Linked DNA regions of Homo sapiens: region 1 is linked to region 2. The links are contacts of gene promoters, found by promoter capture Hi-C in human tissues and cell types (Jung and others, 2019). All regions are on one chromosome and are shown on one strand. Each heading gives the region's core, a stretch centred on a gene start or on the middle of the fragment in contact. The rest is flanking DNA. Distances are from core to core; before and after follow the strand shown. Region 1 has its middle 120 kb from the start of TMEM260. Region 2 holds the start of ATG14 (autophagy related 14).

What was found. Contacts are between HindIII fragments. The study calls those that stand out against the background at their distance.
Region 1: a contact is called between a fragment that was not itself captured here and the fragment with the promoter of ATG14 in region 2, in 1 of the 25 tissues and cell types used here (dorsolateral prefrontal cortex).

What each region holds. Positions count from the first base shown.
Region 1 is chr14:56,453,872-56,456,571 of GRCh38, forward strand. No RefSeq gene overlaps it. Among named protein-coding and RNA genes, the nearest start is that of TMEM260, 120 kb to the right of the region's middle. The HindIII fragment of the contact is 3,696 bases long and covers 1-2,700 here.
Region 2 is chr14:55,410,493-55,413,192 of GRCh38, forward strand. ATG14 (autophagy related 14) reads right to left here and starts at 1,338. Exons shown (of 10, transcript NM_014924.5): 1 at 1,110-1,338. The coding sequence starts at 1,330. It also overlaps a transcript of FBXO34 not described here. RefSeq lists a silencer at 1,328-1,627. The HindIII fragment of the contact is 14,251 bases long and covers 1-2,700 here.

The DNA of each region.
Region 1 (2,700 bases), core at 31-2,530, 1.0 Mb after region 2:
TTTCTTTTCTCTCTCTAAATAAATATTCATTTTGGTATGTAATTTTGAACTTTTTCTTAAAGTGGGACCCCAAATTACATAAGTATAATGCCCCCAGAGAACTTGGACTGGCTTTTGTCTACCCCTCTTGCTCTGGTTCTTACTTGGATATGTGTGTCTGTACTGACCAAGCATTATCACCATTGTCACCATCCAGATTGTCATTATGTCCCTTGGCCCATGTCTGTTGCTTTTAACTTTTCAAAGAGCTATGGCATCTATATCTTAGATCCAATTTAGAGGCTGAGTGACCTGCAACATCTCCTAATTACGTAACCTCTGTGTGCCTTAGTTTTCTCATCTGTAAAATGGGGATAATCCTGGTACCTATTTTATAGGATTACTGTGAAGGTCAAATGAGTGAATAGACATAAAGTGCTTAGAACCATGCCTGGCACAAAGCAAGCACTGTGTAGGAGCTTGCTATTATTTTATTATGTAAATTTTTATATAAATATACATAATTATGTTAAAATTATTTTAATAGCAAGCTCCAAGGTAGTACTTGCTTTGTGCCAGGCATGGTTCTAAACACTTTATATCTATTCACTCACTTGACCATCACAGCAATCCTATAAAATAGGTACCAGGGGCTACAGCTCCCAGCATGAGCGATGCAGAAGATGGGTGATTTCTGCATTTCCAACTGAGGTACTGCGTTCATCTCACTGGGGCATGTCAGACAATGGGTGCAGTCCATGGAGTGTGAGCCGAAGCAGGGTGGGGCATCGCCTCACCTGGGAAGTGCAAGGGGTGGGGGGATTCCCTTTCCAAGCCAAGGGAAGCCATGACAGATGGTACCTGGAAAATTGGGACACTCCCACCCTAATACTGTGCTTTTCCAATGGTCTTAGCAAACAGCACACCAGGAGATTATATCCTGTGCATGGCTTGGAGGGTCCCACACCCATGGAGCCTTGCTCAATGCTAGCACAGCAGTCTGAGATCAAACTGCAAGGTGGCAGCGAGGCTGGGTGAGGGGCGTCCGCCATTGCTGAGGCTTGAGTAGGTAAACAAAGTGGCCAGGAAGCTCAAACTGGGTGGAGCCCACCTCAGCTCAAGGAGGCCTGCCTGCCTCTATAGACTCCACCTCTGAGGGCAGGGAATAGCTGAATAAAAGGCAGCAGAAACTTCTGCAGACTTAAACATCCCTGTCTGACAGCTTTGAAGAGAGCAGCGATTCTCCCAGCACAGAGTTTGAGATCTGAGAACAGACAGACTGCCTCCTCAAGTGGGTCCCTGACCCCCGAGTTGCCTAACTGGGAGACACCTCCCAGTAGGGGCCAACTGACACTTCATACAGCTGGGTGCCCCTCTGAGACAAAGCTTCCAGAGGAAGAATCAGGCAGCAACATTTGCTGTTCTGCAATATTTGCTGTTCTGCAGCCTCCGCTGGTGATACCCCAGCAGACAGGGTCTGGAGTGGACCTCCAGCAAATTCCAGCAGACCTGCAGCTGAGGGTCCTGACTGTTAGAAGGAAAACTAACAAAGAGCAAGGACATCCACACCAAAACCCCATCTGTACGTCACCATCATCAAAGACCAAAGGTAGATAAAACCACAAAGATGGGGAGAAACCAGAGGAGAAAAGCTGAAAATTCTAAAAATCAGAGCACCTCTTAGCCTCCAAAGGAAGGCAGCTCCTCGCCAGCAATGGAACAAAGCTGGATGGAGAATGACTTTGACGAGGTGAGAGAAGAGGCTTCAGATGATAGCTAATAACAAACTTCTCCAAGCTAAAGGAGGATGTTCAAACCCATCACAAAGAAGCTAAAAACCTTGAAAAAAGATTAGATGAATGGCTAACTAGAATAAACAGCATAGAGAACACCTTAAAGGACCTGATGGAGCTGAAAACCAGGGCACGAGAACTACGTGACGCATGCAGAAGCTTCAGTAGCCAATTCGATCAAGTGGAAGAAAGAGTATCAGTGATTGAAGATCAAATGAATGAAATGAAGAAAGAAGAGAAGTTTAGAGAAAAAAGAGTAAAAAGAAATGAACAAAGCCTCCAAGAAATATGGGACTATGTGAAAAGACCAAATCTGCATCTGATTGGTGTACCTGAAAGTGACGGGGAGAATGGCATCAAGTTGGAAAACACTCTTTAGGATATTATCCAGGAGAACTTCCCCAACCTAGCAAGGCAGGCCAACATTCAAATTCAGGATATACAGATAATACCACAAAGATACTCCTCGAGAAAAGCAACTCCAAGATATAATTGTCAGATTCACCAAAGTTGAAATGAAGGAAAAAAATATTAAGGGCAGCCAGAGAGAAATGTCGGGTTACCCACAAAGGGAAGCCCATCAGACTAATAGCGGATCTCCCAGAAGAGAGCGGGAGCCAATATTCAACATTCTTAAATAAAAGAATTTTCAACCCAGAATTTCATATCCAACCAAAGTAAGCTGCATAAGTGAAGGAGAAATAAAATCCTTTGCAGACAAGCAAATGCTGAGAGATTTTGTCACCACCAGGCCTGCCTTACAAGAGCTGCTGAAGGAAGCACTAAACATGGAAAGGAACAACTGGTACCAGCCATTGCAAAAACATGCCAAATTGTAAAGACCATGGATGCTAGGAAGAAACTGCATCAACTAATGAGCAAAATAACCAGCTAACATCATAATGACAGGATCAAATTCACACATAAC
Region 2 (2,700 bases), core at 88-2,587:
AAGACACAGCAACAAAACTAAAAAAGAGTTTGTCATTCAAACCTCCTCAAAAGAGAAAGGAAAGAACTCCATCCACGATCACAGAAATACTAAGAACTCAAAACATTCCCAAATATAGAGGATATAAAGTCTAGTGGTTAAGTGCGGGTACATAGGTCCAAGCTGTCTGAATTTTAATTCTTGTACCAACACTTAACTATTTGTGTGACCTGGGGCAAAGCACTTACTGTGCAGCTTCCTAATAAGTTGGGGATAAGTCATTCGGTTGTTGCGAATGAATTAATACCTGAATTTTTGTGCTCAGAATGCTAGCTATCTTACTATCATTGACTATCATTGACACTAAATTGTTGAAACATAAGTTGAGAGTGGGAGATCCTGCAGCTAATCACACTAATTTTTCAATTTTCTTAACCAAGAACTTGTAGCTGTTTAGATTTCGAAATGAAACCAAAACATTTTCCTAAAGGCAATTCTCTTAACTAAAAGCATGCAGCTCCCAATCTGAATTTTAAAACAAGGCCAAAACACGTTCCCAAATTCCTAAGAATCTAAAATAATCTTTAGAGGCAGGGAGGGGAAAGGGGCGTTAACAGCAAGCCTCAATTCACACATTAGAGTAAGCATGTCTGATAACAAAGTCCATCTGTGACAGACTACCAGGCCCAAATCCCTCTAAAGCAGTTATTTGATTCTCTTCTACTCTCTCCTCTAGAGAATGAGTATAAATATGCTTTCGAAAATAGAAAGCCAAGCTTTTGAATGGGAGTACATACAGCAAAGAGCTGGGAATCTAACTTAATGGCAGCAACGGGAAAACTTCTCCAGAGAGTCACCACTTATTCCTTTTTTCCCCAGTGACCAAGAGCACCGTGGGGTCAAACTCCTCTTGGGTGGGTGATGGGGAAACGGCGACCTTCCCTCATCTGGCCCCTACGCTGTCCTCTGGTAGCAAAGCTCCGGTGCAGAGCAGCTAGCTACACTCCCTCTCTCTCGCTCCTCTCGCTGGTATCTGGTGCCCGGACGGGGAGCCCCAGGTTCCAGCCTTCGGCTGCCTGGCTGGAGGACACACAGCAGAAGAAACAATAGGGCCGTGGCGGCCGCCGTACCTCTCCCGGTCGCGGCCGTCGAAGTAGACGAAATCGCCGCTCTGAACGCATTTGGCGCAGGTCAGCCGCCGGCGGGTAGTGTTGCACAGCGGGCAGCGCTCCACAGCCACGTACAGCCCCTCCGCATCGTCCACGGAGTCCACCAGGTCCCGGGCGAGCGGCCGGGGCCCGCAGCCAGGAGCCTCCAGCGCCCGGGCTCCCTTCCCACTGGGAGACGCCATGATGGCCTGAGAGGAGAGCCAGTCACGTGGGATTTTGTTTTCAACCGGGTGCATTCTGGGCCAGGAGGAGGGGCCTGGGGAAGGGGGGCTGGGATGCCGGCGAGCCCCCGGACCCCTCCGCCGCCGCGTGTTCCTGTCCCGGGCACTGTTGTTTTTCCGGTCTGCTGAGGGGCAACAGGTCCCGAAGCAGGGGGAGAGTTATATTAGAGGGGCTAGTCGGCCAAACAAAATGTCATCTGCTGGCTCAGGCCAAGACTACGAGTTAAAGCCTCAAACTTGTGCAGAAAATTGTAATACCATACCCTAAGGATTCTGGGAAAACGGAATGGGAGCGGAATAAGGGAATTTAACTTGCTGTGGATGCTTTAAAATCTGGCTAAACTACAGCAAACAAAGTAGGGTGAAGGGGCTGGGTCTTGGAACTAGGTTGAATTTTGGCTCACTCACCTGCTTAATAGCTGTGTGACTTGGGGCAAGTTCCTTAATCTCTCTGCGCCTGTTCTCTCGTGTTAAATGGATAGAATTATAGTACCCATCTAATGCCGTGAGGATTAATATGGTTAATAGTATTATACTTTACCAATAGTGAAAACAACCAAAGTGAACGTGCAAAATCAGAATTGTATCCTTCTGAAAAGTTAATCACGTGGCTAACGTACCTTCCCTACCCTGGGCCATGCTCTAAGAGAATTTGAACTAGGTAGATGGTTAGGACTTCCCTTCAAGTTTCTTTTGGTGGATAGGGGATATATAAGGTGATGTGTTGGGAGGATCATATCAGAGTAATTAGTGTTTGAATATGCCTCTAAACTACAGAGAAAAGTGAGTTTATAGGTGAGATTAAATAGACCAGTGATTCTCAAGGATGATTTTACTAGGCTATCTACTGATAAACTGCCCTGAATTCTCTCTCTAGCCAGGATTCCTTTCTCAAGTTCCATACCCAAAGATCCAGAACTACTTACTAGGTATCAGGTGACATTCCAGGACACCACAAACTCAAAGTGTTGGAAACTGACTTCTGCCTCCCTACAAACCTGTTTTCTTACTTTGGTAAAGGACGTAATCACTGATGATTTACAGCCAAGAGCCATGATTCATATTAGCCCGTCCCTCCCTGTTAATCTCCACATCACCATCGAAAACTGGTGATTCTACAAGCTAATTAGGTCTTGAATCTGAGCCCTTTGCTCCTCCGTCTTCTTAATCTTACCCAGTCTTTTTAAATACAAATCACGTAGGATTACAAAAACAAGCAAAAGCAAAAATTCTCTATATTCAGAATACAGTTTACACTAAACTTGAATGGTTCCTGAAAGTTTAAGATTTATTTTTAAGTGAGAAGTCTTTCTCTCTGATCATTTCAAACA